2 separate regions of the Homo sapiens genome follow, and region 1 is linked to region 2. The links are contacts of gene promoters, found by promoter capture Hi-C in blood cells and fetal thymus (Javierre and others, 2016). All regions are on one chromosome and are shown on one strand. Each heading gives the region's core, a stretch centred on a gene start or on the middle of the fragment in contact. The rest is flanking DNA. Distances are from core to core; before and after follow the strand shown.

Evidence for each region. Contacts are between HindIII fragments. The CHiCAGO score rates a contact against its expected background, and 5 or more counts as called.
Region 1: a fragment that was not itself captured here is called in contact with the fragment with the promoter of LRRC66 in region 2 in 2 of 17 cell types (monocytes and endothelial precursors); the score reaches 6.6 in monocytes.

The regions. Positions count from the first base shown.
Region 1 is chr4:51,862,684-51,868,248 of GRCh38, reverse strand. It overlaps DCUN1D4 (defective in cullin neddylation 1 domain containing 4), which reads right to left. Exons shown (of 11, transcript NM_001040402.3): 2 at 4,742-4,812; 3 at 4,540-4,579. It also overlaps the pseudogene DUTP7. Among named protein-coding and RNA genes, the nearest start is that of DCUN1D4, 22 kb to the right of the region's middle. The HindIII fragment of the contact is 982 bases long and covers 3,146-4,127 here.
Region 2 is chr4:52,018,452-52,023,923 of GRCh38, reverse strand. It overlaps LRRC66 (leucine rich repeat containing 66), which reads left to right and starts at 3,561. Exons shown (of 5, transcript NM_001024611.3): 1 at 3,561-3,620. It overlaps SGCB (sarcoglycan beta), which reads left to right. Exons shown (of 6, transcript NM_000232.5): 6 at 1-3,218. The HindIII fragment of the contact is 6,788 bases long and covers 2,175-5,472 here.

The DNA of each region.
Region 1 (5,565 bases), core at 2,387-4,886, 160 kb after region 2:
CCAGGAACAGCTGCAGCCGCCCAGCCATGGCTGCGGACCCAGGCATCCCTGCACTCTCAAGGACTGGGAAGGCCCCCTGCCCCCACAGCCTCAAAAGTGACTGCTCCCACTTCCTGGCATCTCCCTACTCCTGGTGCTTTGTCCGTTATCAGAGTAAAGTTGAGGCTGAGCCCAGGCACTGTCGTGACCTGACCAGGTGTGCACATGCTTGGGGCAATGCTGACACACCAGCCCCCTGCCACCTCAGCCCCCTTCAAACTTTGGGCACCAACAAGCACGAGGGGGAAGCCGAGGGGGGCTGAGAGCAGCTTGGCGCAGACCTGCAGGTGCCCCTTGGCACGAACAACCTGAGCGCCGTGGGCACCATGGATGGCAAGTTGATGGCATCAGGAAGCAGGCTTCTGCGCAGAAAGGGGTGGGTCCCCGGTAAATCCCCAACTTCAAGCCTGGAATGGCCTGAGGCCTGGAGGCTGGGCTGCCAGTTCCAGGGACTAGAGTGAGAACTTATGGTGCTTTTTCCAGGCCAGCTCATGGCTGCCCATGGACCAATCAGCACGTGCTTTCTCCCCTCTGAAACCCATTAAAAACCTCAGACTCTGCCAGACTCAGGCAGAGGACAGGACAACCTGCCTGCAGATAGGAGCTACTCACTCCAGGTCTCCTCTCCACCGAGGGCTGCACAGATGTCGGGAGGACCTGCCTGCAGAAAAGAGCTACCCACTTTGGGTCTGCTGAAAGCTGTTCTGCCACTCAATGAAGCTCCTCTACACCTTGCTTACCCTCCAGTTGTCTGCATACCTCATTCTTCCTGGATGCGGGACAAGAACTCAGGATCCACCAAATGGCAGGACTAAAAGAGCTGTAACACAAACAGGGCTGAAACGCACCCCTTGCCACTTGCCACGTTGTGGGCGGTGAAGAGAGAAGAGCTGCAGCCCTTTGAGGAGCCTAGACCTATGGGCTCCTTGAGCCAGGGCTGTGACACCCTCTTTGGGGTTCTGTGGTTCCTGGTGTCTCCAAGCTTCCGGGCGCCACCTTGTTCCCCTCATCCAGGTGCAGGTGCCCACAGTGGAAGCCACATGCAGTACATCTGGTCCAGCTGCAGCCTCGCACAGAGCTGGTGCCTGTACTGGCGCCTGTGCTGGCACCTGGAGCTACTTGCCCCACTGCAGCAGCCAGCATGCCTGGCTGTGTGCAGTGATTGGAGCGGGTGCTTGCTCACCCACACACCGTGTGCTGCTCCATGTCTAACTCACACTTGGCAGGTGTGGGATCCAGGCCAGTAGTGAGAACTGAGTGCAGCCTGCCTGGCCAAGTGGGTGGAAGGAGCCCAGCAGACACAGGCAATACTCAGGCAGAAGGTGCCACCAGCCACAGAAGTTTCCGGCTGGCAAAGCAACACCCCAAGAATCCCATGAAAAGTACTCCCAGTATTGGACGTATCCACTGTAACCAAGGCAAAAGTGGAGGCATGAGTCCAAGTATACTTTCGTTTAACTGAATTTCAAGTGCCACACTTTGGGTTAAATATTTACATGCAAAATTACTATAGTAACAATACTTATCTAATTCAAAAGTTCAGAACTACTAAAACTGGTCCAAAAGTTATATTCCTGCATTATTAGTGGTGGCTAAAAGTTAAACATATAAGCATAAGTGTACATAAATCAACAGGAGGCTGAAGGAACGTATTATAAAATACCCATGGATTAGAAAATTACAGTCATTAAAAAAGAAAGCAGATGCTTTATAAATGTGTTAATATGAAAAGATCTCAAGGATATACTGAGTGGAAAAGTGGCAAATATAAATGTACACTTGTATTTAAGGAAAAAATACATCATCATCATCATCATCATCATCATCATCACCATAATTTGGTTAACAAACAGAAGAGTTACCTCTGGAAAGTCAAACGTGGACTACTAGTGGGGGATGGAACCTAGGGGTGATAAACTGGGACAGAAATCTTCACTTTTTGTTTTATATTTTTTCAATACTTCTTTCAAAACTATGCGAATATACTGCTTTTAAAATTATTAAATAAATTGTTTTTGACTGTCCTTGAGTTGATCTATATTTGCTGATATGGAATGATCAGGTGAAGGGACCCTTAGTACCCCTGAACTCCTAGAACACTCCTAGCGCATTCTCTGCCTCTCTGTCTCACTCCTTTCCCTGGAAGAAGGAGTGCCTGATCTAAGTGCTGAGAGACTGAACTGAGCAGAGAGCCTGAAATGAGCAGAAAGCCCAACCCCTCTGAACTCCCTTTCAGATCTGCCTGCAGTGGAGCAAGCTGAAAGAGTATGAACACTTCCACTGTCATAGTGCAGGGTGTAAAGGGTCAGCAGGTATGCTGGCTTGTGCTTATCTAGTTGTGACAGTGATTCAGGTGAAATGCTGAAAGTCCTGTGCATTCTTGCTGCACATCTAAGTTGTGTTTTCCAAAAACACTGTTACTTCAGTCTCCATCTTACACCTAATTTTCAATTGATTCTGAACCAATTTAGAGAAGGTGGGGACAGTCTTAAATCTCAACAGCCCCCAAAATGCACCATTAAATGAAAAAGAAAAACACACTATAACACGTACAGTATGATATCACCAATGCTAAATTAAAAACCACGACTATAAACATATATGCATGCATACAAATGTGAGAAGGGATCCTGCACCCTCTCATTCCCTCCTTCGCTCACCTTCTCGTTCTGCCATGCCCTTCTCTAAAGAGATACCTGCCATTTCCCCCAGCAAGCTCTCTGGTCTGTGGAGGAGGTCAGCATGCAGCTCTGCCTTGCCCAGCTCTCCAAGCATACCACGGCCTGACCTGAGGGTCTGTACAGGCTGCAGGCTATGACCTGTACAGTGCCTAAGATGATACAATACCACCTATGGAGAAAGCTCTTGTGAACAGACATTTAGATAGAGCTCCTCCTTCCAGGTGTTGTGGAAGAGTAGCTCCACGCTGGCTTGGCTGCAAAACACTTTATAGATGTAGGAGGTGGTATCATAAAGGAAGATTACAGAGGAAATGCTGGTGCTGTACTGTTTTATTTTGGCAAAGAAAAGTCTGAAGTCAAAAAAGGTGATTGAACTGCAGTTCATTTGTGAACAAATCTTTATCCAGAAATAGAAGTTCAAAGCTTTGGATGACACTGAAAGAGGTTCAGGAGGTTTGGGTTCCACTGGAAAGAATTAAAACTTATGCTAAGAATAGAAAATGAGAAATCATACCTTTTTCTTAAAGAGTTTTTGCTTTGAAAAAAAAGTCTGAAAGAACCAATGTTAAACCATGTGCTGGCAGAAAGTGACAGCTGTCACTTTTCACTCTATTTAGTCATCTAAAGAGACGTCTAAATAGTTGTCTAAAAGACGACTGTAACTTTCCACTCTATTTACTTTTGTGCTATTCAAAATTCCCCAACAAGCACTGCTATGGCCTGAAAGTTTGTGCCCCTCCAAAATTTACATGCTGAAAGCTAATCCCCAGACTGCTGGTAGTAAGAGGTAGAGTTGGGAGGCAATTAGGTCAGGGAGGTAGAGCCCTCATTAATGGAATTAGTGCCCTTATAAAAGAGGCCTGAGGGAGCTGCCTGCCCCTTCTGCCATGTTAAGATGCAGTGAGCAAGAGGCACCATCAGTGAGGAACAGACCCTCACCAGACCCAGGATCTGCTGGTGCCTTCACCTTAAACTTACCAGTCTCCAGAACCATGAACAATCAAGTTCTATTGTTTATAAACTACTCAGTTTAAGGTATTTTTGTTACAGCAGCCCAGACTAAGACAAATTTCAATTCGTCTATTACTATGGCCATTTTCAAAAACTTTAAAATGTGTTTAAATAATTTTTGCTAGGATTTTAGTAACCATAGATCAAATGCAAGTTTCTGGACTTGATGATTACTAACAGTTGAGAGAAGTGGTTCTCAAAGAGTGGTCTCCAGACCAGCTCCATCAGCATCACATAGGAGCAAACTCTGGGGCCCCACCCCAAGTCTACAGAACCAGAAACTCTGGGGTGGAACCTAACATCTGTACTTTAAACAAGGCCTTCCCTCAGGTGATCATAATGCCAGCTAAACTCTGAGAACCACAGGGTTAGAGGATAACTTATACTAATCAAGCTTCAATTTTCTGATTTCTAAATCTTCAGTAACTATGAACACATACACACACACCATATTAAATCATTTTTCAGCTGAATTTCTCAAATATTTGTGGAATACCTTTCAAATTGCATTACTGTAGCACCTTTTTAATATAAATGAAAATACTGCAGTAGAGAAAACAAGGTATCTTGAAACTATGAGAATCCCGAGCCTCTTTAAAGGCATTAAAAAGTGCTTCCAGAAGAGATTTCCTACTGGGAAGAAGCTATAACATGGCTGCCTTCATTACTCCCTGAAAAACAACCTCAGCCAAGGAACAATTTGTTAATGGAGTACATTATGACAACATAGCGCATTCATAGCTAGTATTTCTCTTTCCTAATATTAAGAAGCTATTTAAAATTAAGTAGTGTTAGCATTTACAGATACCTGTTTGGTGATCGTCTTGGCCAATGTCTTCTGTTAGGTTCTGAAAGAAATATGTTCGTTATTACGAAGAAATCACATACCGTTAGCATTTTCATAAACAACTGATATCCTAATATCTAGAATCTAAATTTTTATCAAATACACTTATACAAAATGACTACTTCAAACAGTTGGTAATTTTGTCTTTAAAAGAATGACTTACCAGCTTATTAAGGGTGTGGTAGATCTTATGAATATTTGCCAGTGTTGAGAGATGAGAGTTCAGCTGAAAATCTTGAAAAGAAAAAGGAAAAATGTCAGCGTCATTTATTTCCAATATTGTAAAAAAACAAACTCAGAAAATAAACAAATGTTTTGATATAATTAAATACTATCTCAATTAATTTGACACTAAAGTTTTTTAAAAACATGCAATTAGTGACCTCCTAGAAATAGTCTGACAATAAAGTTAAATTCCCAACCAAATGTTAAAGTTCATGAAATTTTCATGTGAATTCTAAGGTAAAACAAAAAGTACTTCAGTAGTTATAAAATCCTGCCAGCAGTGAACTTGAACTTAATAGAAAGATAAGTCTCAAATGAAATGTTCACTTTCCCCTCTCTTCCCTAGAATTACTGGTACAATTAAGTAAGCTCATGGCAAGAAAATGATAGAAAAGCATCCCAACATTAGTATTTATTTTTTCTTTTCCTTTTTTTGAGACAGGATCTCACTACGTTGCCCAGGCTGAAGTGCAGTGGTGCAATCATGGTTCACTGCAGCCTCAGACTCCCAGGCTCAAGTGATCTGCCTGAGCCTGCATGGTAGCTGGGACTACTAGTGTGCACCATCATGCACAGCTAATTTTTCTTTTTTTTTTTCTTGTAGAGACAGGGTCTTTCTATGTTTCCCAGGCTGGTCTTGAACTCCTGGGTTCAAGTGATCCTCCTGCCTCAGCCTCCCAAAATGTTGGGATTAAAGGTGTGGGCCACTACGCGCAGCCTCAACTTGAAGTAAAGTATGTTTGCATATATATTAGGCAATAA
Region 2 (5,472 bases), core at 2,312-4,811:
TTGACTTGACTTTTTTATGCATGCAAATCATTGTTTTTACAGAGTTTGTGATAACTCATAATTATTTTAATGGCAGAGCACTGCTGTATCTGTTTTATGGTCTACATAGTTAAAATCTTCTCAGAGAGCCTAAATTCTAATACATTTTATTAATTTATACTAATCTTCATATTTACTGTTCTCTAAAATAATTATGAGAAGCAAATAAAATCAAAAGTCATGTTTAAAGACGTGTTTTTAAAATTCCACTATCCCTTTTCTAAAGGTTAAAGGTCTGAAGCAGCTGTTTAGATTCACTGTAAGTAAACTTTGGTAACTCTAATGGGGATAGACCCACTTAAGATATTTAAAAAGGTATGGCATCAGCGTTTCATGCTCTGCCTTTTAGCTTCTAAAAGGAAAGATGCAGATTTCTAGTGCATTAAGCCTGAGCCATATTCTCACATGCAAGTGAAGTCATTAAAGAACTTTACATATGTGAGATAGAAACAATGGTTCCTTAGTTTTGCACTGGGAAGAAAATATTTTGTAAAAGAATGTTTATTTGAAATAATGATAACTATCAATTGTTCACAATGTGGTGGAAATTAAAACACCATCTCAGCTTTAACTTTTAAATAATAATGATAACTATCTTTATTGAGCATCTTCTACATCCTAGGCATTGTCCTAGGCATTGCATGTTTATATCCCCAATTCTCACCACAACCCTGCAAGTAGGTGGTATTATCCAAGTTTTACCCATTAAGAAACTGAAGATCAGAGAAGTTAAGAAACTTGCTCAACATCATATAGTAAGTAGCAGAGTTGGGATTGGAATTCAGGCATGACTCAAACCTGGATGTACTTGATTCCAAATGCCATGTTGTTTTCACTCTCTGCACTGACTTTTTAATTATTTAAAACTCTAGAAAGATGAACAAAGGTTAATTTAAACTTACCTAAGAAGATGAGAATCAAACAAAACAGATATGCTTACTCTAGTTAAAAAGAAAATAAATCTCATGTCAGACCCAGAAAGGACCAATCACTGTCCGATTGTAAGCTATGTTGGGCCAATTCCAAAATATTATACGATGGAGAGGTCAAATTTACCTACTTCTGAGTTACCTCAGTTTCCCAACAATGGACCTTGGCACACTGGAGTAACAATACATAACAGAGTTGCCAAGATATTTATACCCTCAGCACTCGGGGCAACACAGTGGAAAGTGGGGAGGCCATAGACCCAAACAAGTTCTTTGGGCCAGGCATGGCCTAGTAAGTACACCATGCCTCGAAAATAAGTCCAGAAGCACTGGACTAAAGAGTGCTAATGCAGGAAATAATACACATAATTTTTAGGTAAGGATAATAATTTATCTCTGCTCCTAATATTACTATCCCATTGTAATTATTTATAACCCTCAAGCCAGTTGATTTTTAATATATTTGATTGGAAAAGAACTCTCTGGTATTATTAAGACTCACACAGAATCAGGGACAGGGCCCCCAAAGGAGTTTGCTGTAAAATAGGCAGTAGAGTTGTGGCATGGGCCCAACCCTGCATTCAAGTGTAACAGCATTCTGTCAGGGTCACTTTGAATTGTGCACATAAGAAAACCAATACAAAAAACAATTTGTATTCAATATTGTCACATTTCTCTCTGGTAGAAAAATCAAATACCTTAGAGATTATGAAGTCATTAATTTATACTGAAATTGGATTGACTTACTACCTAACACTGAGCGCTGTTTTTAAATGAAAAGAATGAGATTTATAACCACTTGAGTGTTATTGCAGTGATATTTGAACTCATTTGAATATATTCAGTATCATTTAATGTCTGAATTCAGAAAAAAATGCCGAAATTTTTATTCAGATGGTCCATAAATTAAATTGCATATTCATTACTTATCTGCTCTATTTAGATTTATTTTAAAAGTTTATTTAAGTAAATATTTTTATAAAAACCAGAAAACACTGTATTACAAAATATTATTTATTAAATGTAGTTCAGGAAATAATCTATTTTTACTCTTTTTTGGGAAATACTTGTGTTTTTGATACATCTCCATGAAGTTCTTTTGAGAGGAGAGGCTATTTTGATGTTTTTATACAACTGAAGGTTAACAGCCATAGCATTTTATGATACTTTACAGGTAGTCCTGGCTTTTTCCCTGAAACATAAGCTTGGAAAATCTATTAGAAAGCAGAACAGGGCAAACTCTCCATTTTACTTATGGCTTTTCTAATTTTTAATTAATTAATTTATTTTTTTGAGACAGAGTCTTGTTCTGTCGCCAGGCTGGAGTGCAGTGGCACAATCTCGGCTCTCGGCTCACTGCAACCTCTGCCTCCCAGGTTCAAGCGATTCTCCTGCCTCAGCCTCCCGAGTACCTGGGACTACAGGCATGTGCCACAGTTCCCGGCTAATTTTTGTATTTTTAGTAGAGACGGGGTTTCACCATGTTGGCCAGGATGGTCTCAATCTCTTGACCTCGTGATCTGCCTGCCTTGGCCTCCCAAAGTGCTGGGATTACAGGTGTGAGCCACCACGCCTGGCCGGCTTATTTTTATCCACAGTAAATCTTCAGCAACTCATTGTCTCCACCAGATAGTATTTTTCTGTAAATGAAATGCTGACTTCGCCTCTTCCTGCTGTATGCTCATCCCTGCACTGAGCACAGATATGACAAGCAGTAGCCATGGGGGAGGTGGGTGACAAAGATAGGACCCCGGGAGGGGGCGCAGGTACATGCTAGTTTCAATTACCACAGTATTCTAGAGACGGGTTGCAATGACAAGGGGGGCAAATGAAATCAATGCAAGATTTCTTAATAATGGGCAGACAGAAAAATGTAAAACCACACAAAACGGACTGCTGATAATATTTTAAAATATACTTATTTGTCTTCTTTTTGCATTGTGAAAAAAACAAAATAAATTTTGTGTGATAATTTTGATGATGAAAGGTGGAAGTTCTACCTAGATTTGAATGAGTGTTTTTTTAAGGGAATGAGAATGTCATGGTGCTAAACCTGACAAATAAGAGATCATTGAAATGCTGAAAATTTTAACAGTCTTCTTAAAAGTATTGAGGGGGCAAAAATTACCAATTATGGTATACAAAAATAAGCCTATAAATGTGTTTCACATTGCTAACTTGAGTTTCAGTTGATTCAGTTTGTAATAACTAGTAATGAGCTTCTGTTTACAATAAAAATTCTGTAAATTGTTTGCTGTTAATTTTTTAAGGGTTATATATTAACTGTTTTCTACTTAGTCATGCGAACGTGATGAATTTAAATATGGCTTGAGAATGGGACGCTGTCAGTATTTATGTAATCTCTCTGGACTCCTAGAACTCAAAGTTAGAAAGTTGTACATTCCAAGTTTTGAATGCCCTCCTCTCTGTGCATTGCAGAAGGCCTCTCTCCAGTGGTGCTTCCCTGGTGTCCTAGGGGAAAGTGCACACTGTCACCATGGCAGGAGGCCAAAGCCGGAGATGAAAGGGTGAGGGCTGGCCACTGGGCAGCCTTGATGGCAGGTTGGGTGGAGCCTCAAAGGTTCAGGTCTTAAATCCCTACCTGGCTTGATCCAGATATCCACCCATTTGATAACCACTTAGGATACGAAGGTATGTCTTAGAGGCATTATTACTTTCCAGGTCTTGTCCTTACCCGAAATAGCCTCTGTTGCTTTTTTCCTTCAGTTTTGCCACCCTTTCTTTTATGTATAAATGAACTCTTCATTTCCTTTCTATAATACTTTGTTTTTTTGTGCTGCCTTCTTCCTATCTTTCACTTGCTGACTCACAAATGTACACACCCAGTATTTCTAACTGCTTCCTCCTACTTCAGCTTGACTATTTCCATTTTGAAATTTACATTTTGCCTAATTGTTTCCAGTTTTCTAAGCAACTTTTTCTGGAGTTCTGAGTGGTTCCTTACCTAATACATATAAATTTATAAATAGTATGATTTTTTTAACAAATTAATACCTTTCACTTTAAGATATAAGATTCCTTGTCTAGCTGTTTTGAACTCAAACCTAACATGTATAAATCTCTTCAGCTTAAAAAGAACCAGGGCAATTTTAATTCATGTCCCCTTAAGAAAAAGTATTTTTCAACCATGTCTTTCTCTTCAGCACTACAAAGTAATGTACCTGTGAATGGTGACTATATTTTTTTGTTGCTGATTTTGTTACATTAGCTTGGTGCACCATTGTATATATAATGATCTCAGCTTTGAACGTAGAAAAAATATCTTTGTTCCTGGGCAAATCAATTCAATTTCTAGTATTGCATAAGAAGCACACTGTAAAAATAAATCACTCCTCCATGCTGTAGGCTACCTTTGCTGTTCATGGCCATGTGTACCTGAATTTAAATGCCCTTGAAAATATGGGAGGATTGACCTTGTATGAAACAAAAGTTTTAAAGTTACATTGTAAATTTCATTCACTTCACTCCATGCATTCATTTACACACAAACAACATAACCCAGTGACAGACTGCAGACTATTAAAAATGTAAAACATTGGATAGATAGATAGATAGATAATGTTCCTTTTTTTTTTGGGAGTTCAGAACAGATACAAAGCAAAACAATAGCAACGCTGAATGTTACTAATGTGTATCAATTCCTTCAGTGTTTACTGAAAGATTTCTGTAAGAATAAAGACAAATTTGGAGGCTAAAGCAGGAAAAATGACCAGGCCATAAGATGTGAGATGAATCTGGAAGGATACACAAGACTGTGGCTGGCCGGGTGTGGTGGCTCACGCCTGTAATCCCAGCACTTTGGGAGGCCAAGGTGGGCGGGTCACCTGAGGTCAGGAGTTCGAGACCAGCCTGACCAACATGGAGAAACCTCATCTCTACTAAAAATACAAATTAGTGAGTTGTAGTGGCACATGCCTGTAATCCCAGCTACTCGGGAGGCTGAGGCAGGAGAATTGCTTGAACCCGGGAGGCGGAGGTTGTGGTGAGCTGACATGGCGCTCTTGCACTCCAGCCTGGGTAACAAGAGCGAAACTCCATCTTAAGACTGTGGCTAAGAGGAAAAGGCATTGAACTTGGAACTGGGAATGAACTGAAAGTGAATTTCAGTATGCGATATGCATAGATCATTCTTTGCAGAAGCCACATCTTGTAGTGGCTCCACATGAACTTATCAAGCTAGGTCATTAAGTTTACCTAGATAACACAGGCTTTGAATACCAACCTGAGGGATTTGGACTATAGGCAATAAGGAGCCCTTTGAGGATTTCAAATGAAGGAATAATATAGGAAATACGTTATTGTAGGAAAATAATCCTTTGGAGTCACCTAGGATGGATCACAAAGAAGGAAAGTCAAGAGGCAGAGGCAAGAAAGTCAGTTAAGCCATTTTAGTATTTCAGACTGCAGTGATGAAAACTAAACTGAGTGCCATTAGAACAGAAAGGAAGGGACAATTTCTTGGAAACTCATATACTCAATAATG